3 separate regions of the Homo sapiens genome follow, and regions 2 and 3 are each linked to region 1. Evidence: promoter capture Hi-C in 16 types of primary human blood cells and fetal thymus (Javierre and others, 2016). All regions are on one chromosome and are shown on one strand. Each heading gives the region's core, a stretch centred on a gene start or on the middle of the fragment in contact. The rest is flanking DNA. Distances are from core to core; before and after follow the strand shown. Region 1 holds the start of TCF7L1 (transcription factor 7 like 1). Region 2 overlaps TCF7L1 (transcription factor 7 like 1). Region 3 overlaps TCF7L1 (transcription factor 7 like 1).

Region 1 (5,006 bases), core at 682-3,181:
GGCAGGGAGCCTAGGGGTGGAGTGGCGGCTTGGGGGACACAAAGGCCTCGCCAGCCCCCAGCTGCGCCCCTCGCAACGCGGGGGGCGGGAGTTTAGAGCCAGAGAGAGGGGGCGAAGGAATCCGCCCTCATTTGCACGTCGTCTGGGGCCCGGTCAATTTGCTTAATCACCGCTCTAAATGCCAGCGGGCAGCACACAATACGCGCCCATTAACAGGTTTAAAGTGTCGCAGCGCTCGCTTTAAATGAGAAAAGCAGGCGACAAAAGGGGGAAAAAGCCAAGTTCCTCAACTTGAAGAATGCCTTGGGTCGCCTCGAAATCATCTACGCGAGTTTAAAATTCGGAGCTAGCTCCGCAGAAAAGCTGAGGCCCCGGTGCGAGGGCTGGGGGTGGGAACGGGGGCTGTGAATAACCCGCCACGAAAACTGGGTTTCTTAGGAACCAGCCTGCAGCCGCCCAGTGAACCCGGAGTCGGAGGACAACGTCGCCAACCCAGCTCCCTAGGCCCCTTGCCCCACTGCCAGAGAAAGCTGACCGATTTCCAAGAAGGAAAGCGAGACCCCCCCAAAGCGGGCACAAATCCAAGTTTCCTTCGGTGCAGGCGAAGAATTCTGGAGGCCAAGGAAGATCCCAGAGGTGGACTCCAAAACCTCAACCCGCAAGAGGGGAAAAGTTAAAGTAACTTTACTTTCATCCAGGCACTGGCCAGCGCAGCCTCGCGCTCGGCCGCCAGAGAGTAGTTCAACTCCGCAAACAAGTTCTGCTTGGGATCGGCGCAGAAGGCCCCATCCCCCACTCCATGGCCAAGCCCGGGGGCGCATCCTGCGGGCCGCGGCCTCCCACCCTCCCCGGCGCGCCCGACGGGCACTCACGGTGCGCGCTCCTCCGGGAGACAGGGGTCCGTTGGAGAGGTACGGGCTGCTCAGGTCCGGGATCATCAGGAAGGGGTACCCAGGGTACGGGGGTCCTTTAAAGAACGCGCTGTCCTGAGGCCTTCTCACTGCGAACAAGACCAAGGCGAGGTGAGGCCCAGGCCCCCGGGACTGACAGCGCCGCGGCAGGGGGCTCGAGGCGGGAGCTGGGGACCCCAGCGCCCCCCACGCGCGCCCCACGGGGGCTGCCGCCAATAAAGGCGGAGGGCAAGGGTGCGTCCACCCAAGCAAGGGGGACGGTGGGCCGCCCGGGCTGAGCAGCGGAGCGCAGCGGGAATCGAGAGTGGGGGGCTGTCCCAGCGGGCACATACCTTCGGCGAAATAGTCCCGCGGCTTCTGGAAAGTGTCCCGGACGGGCTGCGGGCGCCTCTCCGCCTGCGGAGGAGACACAAAGGCAAGAGCGGGTGAGCGGACGCAGGGCCGGGATCCCCCGGGGGTGGCCGCGGTGCTTCCTTACCTCCGAGTCCGAGCTGCTGCTCTGGTTCTCCGACTCGTTGACCAGGGACGACTTGACCTCGTCTAGGTCCCGCTGCGCCGAGGCGCTATCGCTGCTCGGCTCCTGCTCCTCGCCCCCCTCGTCCTGGAAGGGGATCAGCTCGTCGTTCGCCCCGAGGTCGTCCCCTCCGCCGGCCGCCCCGGCGCTGGAGCCGCCGCCTCCCCCGCTGCCGCCGCCGCCGCCGCCGCCCCCGCCGCCGAGCTGGGGCATGGTGGGGCCGCGGGCCGGGGCCGCCGCTCTCGGAGCCCCTAGCCGCCCGCGCCCTGCCCGGCCCGGCCCGGCGCCCCTCCCGCCCGCTTGCGGGCCCGCTGCGCTAGCCGCCGCAACAAAGTTTGACAGGGCGTGGCCCCGCGGGAAGCGGGCCCGGCGCTGCCCGGCCGGGGCGCAGGCGGCTCGGCTCGGGCCCCTCCGGCAGCGCCGAGCCTAGGGCTCCCCAACTCGCCACCGCCGCCGCCTGCTCCGCCGGGGCGTCCCAGCCCCTGGCCCGCCGGGGAGGGGCGAGCGGGGAGGGAGGGAGGAGGGACCGCCGGGCTGGGCAGGGGGGCCGGAGGGAGGAGCCCCGGCTGCAAGCTGACACCCGCGCGCCTCGCGGAACCCGGAGAGCTGCGGTGCGCGCGCACACACACACATACACACGCACTCACACTCACACGTTCACACTCGCATCTTCCAGGGGCTGCGTCTCCCTGCAACGTGCACCGCCCCCAACCCCCTCCTGCGCCTCACACTGCACCCTCGGCGGCCCTCCCCACGGCCTCCCTGGAGTCCTGGAAGTCTTGCGCCCACCCCTCCGCATCCCCTAACTTTCTCCCAAAGAACCTCCAGAACTCCGCGCAGGTTCCCACCCCCTCCCACCGTATCGGCGCGCGGGCGGGCGGCACTGCCCCCTGCGGGAAAGCCTCGGACGCACATACTGGCCGCGGGGCCCTCCCCCTGCCTAGAGTCCCTCCGAGTGCGCGAGCTGATGCACGGACTAGGACACTGGGGACATCTATGGAACCCCGGAAAATGCCCGGCGGCTTTCCGCGCCTTTTTCCTGTGGGGTTCCAACGCGACCCCCGGCCCAGGTTTTCAACCTTGTACAGATATACAGATTTCCCTGCTGAAATCTTGAAGATCACCTTTTCTTCATTGTTTGGGACTAGGTCCTAAATCGAAAAATCGCGGTCTTGGGTTCCAAAAGAATTTGGATTTGGTTCATTGAGAGGGAAAATTGCCTGTCCAGTGATCTCCGAAGCCATTCACAAAGCTGCGTGAGTAGCCAGTGAACACGAGAAAAATGCTCAACCAGCCTCATACCTAAGTAATGCCTGTGGTGCGAGCGCCACGGCCCGCGCCTGGAGTTCCATCTACTCCCGAGGCCTAGGCAGGAGGATCGCTGGAGCCCAGGAGTTTGAGACCAGCCTGGGCAACATAGCAAGACCTTGTCTCCAAAAAAAAAATTTTTTTAATAAAGAAATGCCTGTTACAATGACATTAAGATGTCGTTTCTCTCCAACCTGTGCGGGAAAGTTTGAGGAAAATGAATATCTTGTGTTATCCTCCGTGGGGAACTATTAGAGCATAAACTTTGAAAACAGCTTGGAAGGCAGTATGGAACTATGTAAAACTATTTTCAGCCCAACTGGCAGAAGAGTTTCTACAGAGGTGCCCGCACATATGGGCAAAGCCACATATGCTAGGTTCAAAGCATCAGAGAGCTTGGTGACATGCATTCTTCATCTTTCTTTACAGTGACAGTCCATGCAGCTGGCCAGTTCTATGCAGTGTCCCCGCCCCTCCCCCCACCCATACACACACACACACACACACACACACACACACACACACACACACACACAGGCACATGGACCAAGATTGATTTTGGAGGAACATCTTTAAATGAAACACTATATATGACACTCACTATTTTATTTTTGTTTTTAAAAAAATTATACACATTTATTTCTGCGTAGAAAAAAATCTGAGAAGATGCAAATTATTATCAATGACTATTTCTGGGAAAGGATAAGTGAAAGGAGATAGTTTTCTGGTTTCTATGAACTTTATAACAAGCAGATATGCCTTTTCTAATTTTTTACACAATACATGAGTACAGTCTCATAAAGCGTTTTCAAATAACAGATGTATCTTGAGCAGTATCGAGTAACAAGTAAAAGTTCCTCTTTCCCCCTCAGGACACAGGACCCTTCTAATTAACCACTTTCAGTTAACTGCCTCTGGTTAACCACTGTCACTAGTTTGGTATATATCCTTCCAGACACTTTCCTAGGCAGTTATGAACATATGTAAACGTATTTACAGATATTCTGATGTACATACATAGAATCATACTCTTTGTATTATTGTGTGTTATTTTATTTTTATAAGATTTAAAAGTCAGACGATTTTTCATGTTTATGGTCCATAAATATATGAAAAACCTATTGTACTAGTTTTCTGCTGCTACTGTCACAAATCACGAAAACTTGGTGGCTTAAAACAACAGAAGTTTATCCTCTCATAGTTGTGGAAGACAGAAGTCCACTGTCAGTTTCACTGAGTAGAAATGGAGGTGTTGACGGGGCCATGCTCCCTCTGGAGGCTCCGAAAAGAATCTACCCTTGTCTCTTGCAGCTTCTGGGGGCTTGTGACCACATCACTCCCACCCTTGCGTCTGTAATCACATTGCCTTCTCCTTTTTTTGTCTGTGACAAATTTTCCTCTGCCCCCTTCTTGTAAGAAACCATACTTGTGGCCGGGCACAGTGGCTCACGCCTGTAATCCCAGCTCTTTGGGAAACCAAGGCAGGTGGATCACGAGGTCAGGAGTTCCAGACCAGCCTGGCCAACATGGTGAAACCCTGTCTCTACCAAAAATACAAAAAATTGGCCAGGTGTGGTGGCAGGCGCCTGTAATCCCCGCTACTTGGGAGGCTGAGGCAGGAGAATCGCTTGAATTTGGAGGGAGGAGGTTGCAGTGAGCTGAGATGGCACCACTGCACTCCGGCCTTGGCGACAGAGTGAGACTCTGTCTCAAAAAAAAAAAAAAAAAAAAAAAAGTGATACTTGTGATAGCATTTAAGGACCACCTGGATAACCTGTCCATGTCAAAATCCTTAACTTCATATCTGCAAAGACCTCTTTTCCTTAAACATTCACAGTTTCCAGGGATTAGGTCATAGATGCAGCTTTGGGAGTAAGCCATTATCAGCCTGCCACACCTATAAACCAGAAATGCAAACGGAAACAGCATTGAGATAACCAGTTTTCATCTGTCAGATTGGCAAAGGAAGAAAAGAATGGTAACACCCAGCATTGGCCCCTATACTAAGAAGCACATAGATGCTGGGCCATTGTGTAACAGTTCTAAAGAGAAGTTTGGTAATACCTGTGAAATACCTTTAAAAGTGTGAACCCTTTGACTTATCCACGTACTTCTAGGATTTTATCTGAAGGAAACAACTAGGTACAAAAATAAACCTGTAGAAGTGTGTTCATCACAGTGAAAAAATCTAGAAACAATTTCAATGTCCCCTATAGGGAATTATTAAGTTAAATCATGGTGCATTCATCTAATGGAATGTTATGACATTGTGG
Region 2 (5,006 bases), core at 927-3,426, 110 kb before region 1:
AGTGGAATGTACCTCACTGAAAGCTCTTGGCACTCACTCTTTACAGAGAATGGTGGGTAGCCAGGACCTATGGTGACATCAGGCACAGAGCAATTCTCCTGTCCTACAAGTGGACAAGAGGGAAGGAGGGTGGTGGTCAAAACCATCATGGGGGTACATGTATCAGATAATGACTAGACTGCATGATTTCATGAGATAAGAAAAAAATATCTTGAGAGAAATGCTTGAGAGTCCTTAGGATTGCAATTCTGCTGAGCACTTGGCTCATCTGTTATTAATAAATGCTGGTGGCAATATCCATGAGTACACTTGTCAGAGGGGCTGCTTCCTCCCCCACCGAGCAACGGCCAGATGGAGAAGTCAGGAGACCTGCGTGGAGAGCCTCGCCTTGCCAGGGGCAAATCCATCACCTCAATAAGCCTCAACTCACTGTCTATTAAATAGGAGTGATTATACCAGCTGCACTTAATTCTTAGAACTATTTTGAGGATGAAATGAGATAATGGATGTGAGTCGTTAAGTATGTCAATCTGGGAATATGTGGGTGGAGCTGTGTGGGAGGTGAGCTCCCTTCTGCTCTGTCATGAAAGGCATGTGACACTCTTCATAGTACTTCCCTCTCCCAGGCCCCCAAATAAGCTTGCCTGTCAATTTTGACACATTTAGAATTCATTAAGTAATTAAATCCATTTTGATCTAATTGAGTTTTCCTTTGAGGGCAGTTTAAGATTCCACTAAGCCTGTGAAGCTTATGAGTAATTGCAAGTGGAAACTACACCCAACTGTGTTGAGATGTCCATCCTCGATTTTTTCCCAATGCATGATTTCACTTGCCGGGATGGCACTGTTACATCTGGAGATCAGAACCAAGCCAACCACCACCACTAGCAGAAGCAATAAATAACACCATTGCATTGAGTCAGCACTGTGGACAGTCCTGTCCTAAACCACATTCATGGGGGACACCTGACTGCCATTCACTTGGAGATCTTTCTGGGCAAAGGAGAGCTGGTCAGTCACCGGGTGACCAAAACCGGCACTGCACTGCCCAAGAAGGACATGGCCATCCTTTAACTGTTTCCATCTGACAAACTGCTGTTGGTCTATGGGCAACTGTTGGTCTGTTTTTTTTTTTTTTTAATTAATTAATTTTTTTTTGAGATGGAGTCTCGCTCTGTTGCCCAGGCCGGAATGCAGTGGTGCGATCTCGGCTCACTGCCAGCTCCTCCTCCCAGGTTCATGCCATTCTCCTGCCTCAGCCTCCCGAGTAGCTGGGACTACAAGCGCCCACCACCATGCCCAGCTCATTTTTTGTATTTTTTTTAGTAGAGACGGGGTTTCACCGTGTTAGCCAGGATGGTCTCGATCTCCTGACCTCGTGATCTGCCCGCCTCGGCCTCCCAAAGTGCTGGGATTACAGATGTGAGCCACCGTGCCTGGCCCGGTCTGTTTTAAAGAGGCCCCTGGCTCTGACCTTGTAGCTCAAAGATGAGCCACATGGTTCCAGGTCCCCATCTGGGACTTCTGGTTGCACTGTGCCAGTGGGAAGCCTTGTCAGCCAACCTACCCCATCTTAGAGGGAAGAGGGACTGGTGACTGATGCCCAGTGAAGAGGCTTGCCTTCGGCCCTCCATCCAAGAAGGGAACCCCCTATGGCCCACTATCCTAAGCAAGTGCTGAGCCATAGTCAGCTTCACCCCATTCTCTATGGGAGCCTGACACCAAACCATTGATTACACCAATCTTCTCAGATAAGGCAGTCCAGCTTAGGTTCCAAGTCTGGAGACTTTTTCCTGAGTCTCCTAGGGGGCCAGACGTGCCTGGGATTTTGAAGAGCCTCCTCTCCCTGGTATCTGTCTTGATACCAGATTCTATTCTGGAATCTGTCCTGCTAGCGGGCAGAGTGCCAAGTCTATATTTTGAGGACAGCAAAGACCTGCATTTGCTAAACCTAATGGTTGTTTCTCAGCCCTCATCTCACTCGACCTTCAGCAGCAGCCCCTCTTCCTTCGTACACTCCCCTCCTTGGCTGCAGGAATGCGGCGCCCACCAGGTCTCCTCCTACCTCTCTGGCTGCTCCTTCTCAGTCTCCTTTGCCAGTTCTTGCTCTTCTCTCCAGTGTGCAAAAGCTGTAGTGCCCACGGCTCAGCCCTTGACCTCTTTTTTTCTCAGCTTCAGTCTCAGGGATCTCCTCCAGTCTCATGGCTTGAAGTACCATCAACATGCTGATGACTAAAGTCTCTGTCTCTAACCTAGACCTCATCCCTGACTTCTAGACCCAATTACCCCACCTATCACTCTCCCCACTGGATGTCCAAAAAGTATCTCCAATACAACATGTCCCAAACAGAGCTCCTAATTATTTCCTCCCAAACCTGCCCCTCCCACAGTCTTCTCCATTTCTGTCAATGACACTTTCTTCTTTCCCACTGCCCAGGAGACATTCCTAACTCTTCTTCCTCTTGCTCCCCACATTTGTTCCATCAGCAAATCCTGTCACTCCTCCTTCAAAATGGGTCCAGAATCTGAGAACTTTCCCCATTTCTACTGCCACCATCCAGGCCCCACTGGCCCAACAACTTGTCTCTGATTTTCTACCCTTGACCCCTTCGGTCTATGATTATATCATGGCAGCCATGGCGCTACGTTAAAACAAAGGTTGGATCACGTCACCTTTCTGCTCAAGACCCCTCTCTACTCCCCATCTCAGTCAAAAGGCTTCATCATGGGCTGCATGCCCCTGTGACCAGCCCCCTGTCCCCTTTCTGACTGTGCCTCCTTCAGTGCTGCCCCCCAGCCTTGCCCACTCTGCTCCAGCCACTCTGTTCTGCCCGCTCCTGGAACCTACCAAGCGCCATCCCCTTTGCACCTGCTGTTCCCTCTGCCTGGCGTGCTCTTCCCCCGTGTATGTGTCTATAGAGTTTGTCACCTCCCTGTGAGGCCTTCAATAAATATTGAATAAATGAATGAACAAGCAAACTGAAGGCTTTACCCTGAACCCTCCCTGGCAGGCCGGGATCCCACAGTTTGCCTGTTCGTTCTTTCCCTGTGGCTGGATCCTGAACTCCGCCCACCACATCTCCCACCCCCAGGGGGTGCTGTTCACAATGTGGTCCGTGGCTAGCAGGGCAGCTCCCAACGTCAACTCTGCAGGGAGCCGTGTGAAGTCACAATATGAATACCCGGCCCTTTCTAAGGTGCCTGGCACGTAGTGGATGGCTCAGCGTATATCTCCTGAACGAAGTTTCACCTCTCACCCTGAGCCAGAATCCTGCCCACTCAGAACCCAAGACCCATGCCTGGGGCTGCCTCTGGCCAGGAAGCTCTCTCTCCTCAGCCCATCCCCAGCCTTCTCCTCCTGGCCCAGCTCCCCCTTCCCTTGCTGAGTTTCTAGCACCTCTTATGCTGTTCACACCCAGACAATTCCGAAAACACTGGATCCCCTGTGAATGGTGTGGAAATGCAACTTCCCCACGTGGAGTCGCTGGGCATGTTCCCCTTCCCTTCCCCTCGAACCCTGCACAGAGGGGGCCATTATGTCACACAAGGCCACTTCACGAGTAAGGGACAAAACAGCCCTTTTGAAACTCAAAACAAAGCTTAAGAGCCGCACCTGAGTTACTAAAGCTTCCACTCAGCCTCACCCATTCCTAGCAATAAGCTGCAGCAGCCGGATCTGCTCCCACCTCTGGGTGACGGCTGGGAACACCAGGCTGTTACCTTTCATCAAAAACACAAAGGGACAGCAAGGGACCTCAGGCATGTAATGGCGCCGAGGAGTAGCCATAACATGTTATTACAGAATTAGTTCTTTCGAAACTGCGTGCCAACTGATTATTAATAAACTGCAAAAATGAGTTAAGGGCGGAATAATTGGGGCTGAATGCCTACCAATCCTGCACATGTTAACCAAGACATATGAGGTTCAACTAGAAGCCAATTGAACAGTTACTTATTGTTAACTACTATGTGCCAAGATGTCGGTGCGTCGAGATCTTTAAGACTTGCTGGAGGCCCCACTGCCAGAGGTGTGTAATCTAAATGGGGAAAGGAAAGGAAAACATGCCCTTTCATTCAATAGTTTTTAAAACAGTACAGTGTACTAGGAAAGGCTGAGGTAAAACATCTGCTTCAATAGGGAGGCAGAGAAAAGGGGATATAGAGGCCCTGGGGAGATTTCTTGAAGGAGACAGAAAACTGGAGATCTGCAAAGAGAAGAAACAGGAGGAAGCAACACATCCCGTGTGGAAGGGGAGAAAGTGGGTGCTGTGAGCAGGAGTGACAAAGTCTTCAGGAAGACTGAGCCTGGGGACAAGGCTGGCCTCAACATTTGCCTTCTATACAGGGTGTGCACAAACCTCAATGCCAAGCCCCATTCAAGGAAAAGGAGGAAGGCTGCAGATGGACCTCACTGACTCTCCCTACAGCAGAAGCGGGCACAGCCGGGTGCAGCGTCTAGGTCAGGAGAGGTGGTGTTTGCATTCATGCTGTCATAACGGCTGTGGTCAGGCTTGGATGAGGACGTCAAGCTGACAAAACCTCAAGGTGATGGAGGACCATTCCTTCCATTATTTGAGCCATCCCAGAAAGAAGGGAGGTAATTCTTAAGCGCGACATGTTCACAAATGGAAAAGTGTGGATTTGGCCTGGATGTTGGCATTTTACTTGGGCCGGGGCTTTATGTGACGTGGGTTCTATGTTGGCAGCCCAGAGGCAGCCAAGTGACCCAGGGAAGCCAGCAACCATAGGGTTTCCAGCCTCATGGTATCAATGGAAGAATTATGAGATCACAAATGTCAGAGCCCCTGGGGCCTTGTAGGTAAATGCTTGGTTTGATTTTAAGTGATCCAGATAATAGAAGAAGTTCTCACTGGCTTCTTTAAGATGGTCCCTTAGACTTACAGATGTTTTTAGGTTCTCATGATTCAAAAATCTATTCTTGCCCCCCCGCACCACCGCCCCCCTCCGCCCAAAAAAAAAGCAAGCAAGCAAAGAGAAACCTGAAA
Region 3 (5,006 bases), core at 846-3,345, 84 kb before region 1:
ACCTCAGCCCAGATCTCCTAAACACCAGGGCATTCTCCTGTATAACCAAATGCAATTATCATTCTCTTGGGAGTTACAAACATTCTTATAAATGGCACTACATTTTAGGTATTTTTTAGCCCCTTATTTTTTCTTTCTTTCTTTTCAAAGAGATGAGGTCTCACTATGCTGCCCATGCTGGTCTTAAACTCCTGGGTTCAAGTGATCCCACTGCCTCGGCCTCCCAAAGTGCTGGGATTATAGGTGTGAGCAACTGTGCCCAGCCTAGCCACTTACTTTTTCTAATGAGTGTTACACTTTTAGAATTTATTCATGTTAATACATGTAGATCTGAGTTAATTCACTATATTCTACTAGATGACTATATTTATTTATTTAATACATAGATGGCCACATATGTTGTTTCTAGTTTATGCTACTGTAAACAATGCAGCAAGGAGCGTTCTTGTTCATGTCCCTTGTGCTCATGTGTAGTAGATTTGCTGGGTCATAAGATATGTGCATCTTTGATTTTACTAGATATTGCCAAATCATTCCTCAATATAATACGCAAATGTGTCATTTATTAACAAACATCCTCGCCAACACCAGTATGCTTAGACTTTAACTTTTGCCGTCTCATTGTTTTAGTCTGCATTTCTCTGATCCTGCTTCTTTCTTTCAATGGAAAGCATACAACAGCATTTTCTGGGGAAAAAAAATTGTTTTTTGAGATGGGGTTTCACTCTGTTGCCCAAGCTGGAGTTCAGGGGCACAAGCGTGGCTCACTGCAGCCCCTAACTTCTGGGCTCAAGCCATCCTCTCACCTCAGCCTCCTGAGTAGCTGGGATTACAGGTGTGTGCCTATTTTATTTTATTTTTTGTAGAGACAGGGTCTGGCTATGTTGACCTGGCTGGTCTTGAACTCCTGGCCTCAAGTGATCCTCCTGCTTCAGCATCCCAAAGTATTGGGATTACAGGTGTGACCCAGTGCTCCTGGCTCTGAACATCTTATTCACCATTATGCCCGTCCATCACAGAGTATCCTTTTATATTATTACTTCTCATATTTTCCCCTGCCTAGATGGTCAGCTGCCACTTAATCTGCAGATGACTGCACTATATAATCAAGCAGTGTTCTTTTATCAAGTCAGGAAAGCCTGGGTAAATATCCAAGGACCTCTCCTAGAGGAAAAAATGCAAAAGCTTTAGGAAAGAACACTATCACCAGTTTTCCCCCCCCCATTGGAATAAAAAGATATTTTAACTAAATATTTCCTAGTTCATGATTTTAATATAGATGTTTGGAACCACTAGAAGTCAGATAACGCTGGGCGTGGTAGCTCACGCCTGTAATCCCAGAACTTTGGGAGGCCAAGGCAGGCAAATCCCTTGAACCTAGGAGTTCAAGACCAACCTGGGCAACATGGTGAAACCCCATCTCTTCAAAAAATACAAAAATTAGCCAGGCATGGTGGCATGTGCTTATAGTCCCAGTTATTCAGGAGGCTGAGGCAGAAGGATTGCTTGAGCCCAGGAGGCGGAATTGCAGTGAGCCAAGATCGTGCCACTGCACTCCAGGCCTGGGTGACAGAGCAAGATCTTGTCTCAAAAATAAATAAATAAATAAATAAATAAATAAATAAAATAAGTAAAGTTAGAAAAGTGTGGGATGCATTTCAGAACATTTTAAATCAAAAACACCTAGAGTTAATTATAGTGCTTTGAAAAGGGAGCATTTATTGTCTGGAAAAAAATTTCTTAAGGGATATAAGACATATATAGGAAAATTTCACCCTATAAATACATAGTGAACACCTCTCGGGCATTCTTCTAGGCACGGGAGAAGAGGACATGATTTTTGATTCCAAGGAATTCCATGGTCTAGTGAAGGAGACAAAAAAGAAAAAAATTATTTTGATAAAAACTGATTAGACCTAATTTAATGCTAGTACAAGTTGAGCATCCCTAACCCCAAAATCGAAAATACAAAATCCAAAATGCTCAAAAATCTGAAACTTCTTGAGTGCCAACATGACACTCAAATGAGATGCTGACTGGGGCATGTCAGATTTTCCAATTACAGATGCTCAGCTGGTCAGTATAATGCAAATATTCCCAAATCCAATAAGAGTTCCAAAACTGCGAAACACTTCTGGCCCCAAACATTTTGGATAAGGGATACTTGGCCTATACAGGGTATTGGGGGAGGGAGTACAGAAGGGAATCATGGGCAAGGAACATGCTACTCAGTGGTGGGTAGGATGTCAGTAAACTCTGAAAAAGAAAAGTGCCTCAACAGCACCTTGGGGTCATTGGTGAGGATACTGGTTGGCAGTGGAATGTCCGAGTCTGTATGGCTGAAGAGCATGGTGCCCATGGGAAGAAGCTGGGACACAGGCTGTGACACCCTATGCTGCGACATGAGTAGTGAGTGACATCAAACGTGAGCAGAATGTGTCTTCCCTCATTTGAACTCATTCACTTTAAACAAAGACCTTGGAAATTAAAGAGTGTAGAAACACCTTAATTTCCTTTTTCTGTGAACAAATTGTTCTGTTTCTCAGAGTGCTTCAGCTGCAAGTCAGTATAACTTGCCAGGTTTGCTTCAATCTTATCTACCTCGTGTTTGTAATTATCAAAGTTAGGAAGTTCACAGGCTTAGGTGGCCACTTACAAACATTTGTTGTGGAGTGAAAATGGCCACAATGTGCAGACTTGTTTCAAGTTGACGCTGTCAGTTTGCCAATGTGGTGAGGGCAGGAGGTGTCTTAAACAATGCCTCATATTCAACACACATGTGGGATTCCCCTTCTGAATTGAAGATGGCTTGCCTCTGAAGACTTCTGGTAAATCACCACGTTCTAGGGACAATGAATGGGGTCATTAAGAAGGCAACTCTTCCTTGCTGGGACACAGGCGGAGGAAGGCTTGCATCCAGGTAGTACTAGAACCCACACTTGGACGGTCTCCTGCAAGGCTCAGATCAAACATCTCTCCAAAGCCTCTGCCTTCTCCAAGCTTGAGAAGCCCCTTTCTCAGGTATTTCAGGTGACATTTTATTCCACTTTGTTGGCGCTCACTGCAGGTATTGTAAAGACTCATGTTCCTGTTTGTTCTCTTACATTGTAAGCTCTGGAGGGCTGGGACCCTATCATGCTCTCCTTGGTAGCCACAGAAGTTGTTCGGTAATTGCTAACTGGAGAGGGGGATGCACACACACCAGGCATTCTTCCAGGGCCGGGAGGAAGGGGCTAACGTTGGTCTGATTAATTTCCCAACATACGCCTTCTAGAAGCAAAAGGAAGCATGGACATGTTTGTGGGCTGGTATGTTTGCTTCTATCTTATTTTACTCTCTGAGGCAAAATAAAAAGGGTAAGATGAACTCAGTTAACTTAATATCACCAATTGCTCACTGGAAGTTGTTTGGAATCCATCGTTTCCGAAAACTCCAAGCACAGCAGGGCGCGAGGTTCCCAGATGGCAAGTGGGCTGTCGGGTCTTCATGGGCAGCGGAAACGGGCAAATTGCATTTTGCACAGTCACATACCTTCTCAGCAGAGCCCAACTATTATTTCCTCACCAGTCAAGTAATGCAGGGTGGGGGATGGGGGGAAAAAAGCTGCCCGGAGCCACGGGGAAGGAAAGGCTGGGCAGGCAGGGCCCAAACTTGCTCATACTTTGTTAGTGCCTTTTCTTCCCTTTTGAATAAAATCTGCATTCCCTTTCTCGGAGAAGGGCAGCCGGGCTCCCCACCTAACACAGCCCTGAATGCAGTGGACTTGGTGCCCCAAAGCCAAGCTCCTCAAGGAAGCTGAACCCAGGCCAGCATCACCACAAGAGGAGAAAGGGAGATTGTCCCCCGCCCAGCGCCAACATTTCATTCTCTTCAGAGGCCTCAAAACCCTAATTTGACCACAAAAACCTGGCCTCTGGTGTTTCTGTTATGAGTATCGGATTCCTTCGGCTGAACTTGGCTGTTCACTGCCTGAACAAATTACATTAACAATACAGAGAAATGTATACAGGGCCTTAAAAACACTGCTGAGCAGGGACCAAAACAAAGACAGCCGTGTCCTAGCAACAAACCTCACCACCCCCCTCACCCCCCCCCACCCCCACCCCAGCAGCCTTGGGCTCTGCCAGGGATTGTAAGCCATTGAGCTCCTCTCTTCTCTGCAAACAATTAGGGACAGAGAAGTCACAATTACAGATGGGATTTACAGCCAAAGGAGCAATCTATAAATCACAGTGCTCCCACCCCCGGCCATTCCCAGCCAGATAATCAGAGCCAGATGTTCGGCACAGCTGCTTCAACGTGGGTACACTGTTGGCCAACTCGACCATGTTCCCGCTCTGAGAACCAGCAAAGGCTCCAGCCAAGCCAACCTGCCAAGCAAGGCGGGGGGCCTCTGCACCCTGGAGCCCACCCAACTGTAGGAAAAGTTGCGTTGTGTGGGAACTGTTTGTTGAAGCCATTGTAGAGGTACATCACTGGCGAGGGTATGTGGCTCCCTGGAGTTCCCTCGAACGCTGCACAATTTCGTGATAGTGGTGACAATGACAATCAGCATCTTTAGCATTTATTGATCACCTGCTACGGACTCACCACTGGGTGGAGCACGTTACAGGTACTCCTTTGCTAAAGAACACTCAAGAGTTCACCCAATTCACAAAGAAACGGAACCTGAGAGAGGGCAACTGTTTTTCAGAAGGTCCCGGTGTTAAAGTGGCAGAACAGCAATTCAAAGCTGGATCTGCTTGACCTTGATGCCCCAGGAATCTCATCTAATTGTAGAGGGATGGACAGACTCTGGTTTCAGGGCACAGGGCTGGAGTTTCCAAATTACTCTCTTGATGGTCAAACTAGGAAGAGACTTGCCATTATTTTACTCTCCATAGCTGGCTGGTGTTTTAAATGTCTGGACTGAACCAAATCAGGTTTTTAGCACCTAGGACCAGGGGACAGCAAACTCCAAATATGGTAAAAGCTAGGTTATTCAAATGTTGCCAAGGTGTTTCTGT

The links. The method cuts DNA at HindIII sites, captures the fragments that hold promoters and counts their contacts. A CHiCAGO score of 5 or more calls a contact.
Region 2: a fragment that was not itself captured here is called in contact with the fragment with the promoter of TCF7L1 in region 1 in 2 of 17 cell types (endothelial precursors and megakaryocytes); the score reaches 15.2 in endothelial precursors.
Region 3: a fragment that was not itself captured here is called in contact with the fragment with the promoter of TCF7L1 in region 1 in 1 of 17 cell types (endothelial precursors); the score reaches 5.4 in endothelial precursors.

What each region holds. Positions count from the first base shown.
Region 1 is chr2:85,130,317-85,135,322 of GRCh38, reverse strand. TCF7L1 (transcription factor 7 like 1) reads right to left here and starts at 1,931. Exons shown (of 12, transcript NM_031283.3): 1 at 1,390-1,931; 2 at 1,244-1,307; 3 at 873-1,000. The coding sequence starts at 1,638. RefSeq lists enhancers at 1-171, 172-746, 1,322-1,896 and a silencer at 2,262-2,331. The HindIII fragment of the contact is 24,991 bases long and covers 1-5,006 here.
Region 2 is chr2:85,241,967-85,246,972 of GRCh38, reverse strand. All of the region lies in intron 3 of TCF7L1 (transcription factor 7 like 1), which reads right to left. Among named protein-coding and RNA genes, the nearest start is that of TCF7L1-IT1, 58 kb to the right of the region's middle. The HindIII fragment of the contact is 2,851 bases long and covers 751-3,601 here.
Region 3 is chr2:85,214,857-85,219,862 of GRCh38, reverse strand. The region is part of intron 3 of TCF7L1 (transcription factor 7 like 1); the gene reads right to left. LOC102724579 (a long non-coding RNA gene) reads right to left here. Exons shown (of 3, transcript NR_136323.1): 2 at 2,657-2,843; 3 at 1,694-1,863. Among named protein-coding and RNA genes, the nearest start is that of TCF7L1-IT1, 31 kb to the right of the region's middle. RefSeq lists a silencer at 4,483-4,777 and an enhancer at 4,027-4,961. The HindIII fragment of the contact is 1,815 bases long and covers 1,188-3,002 here.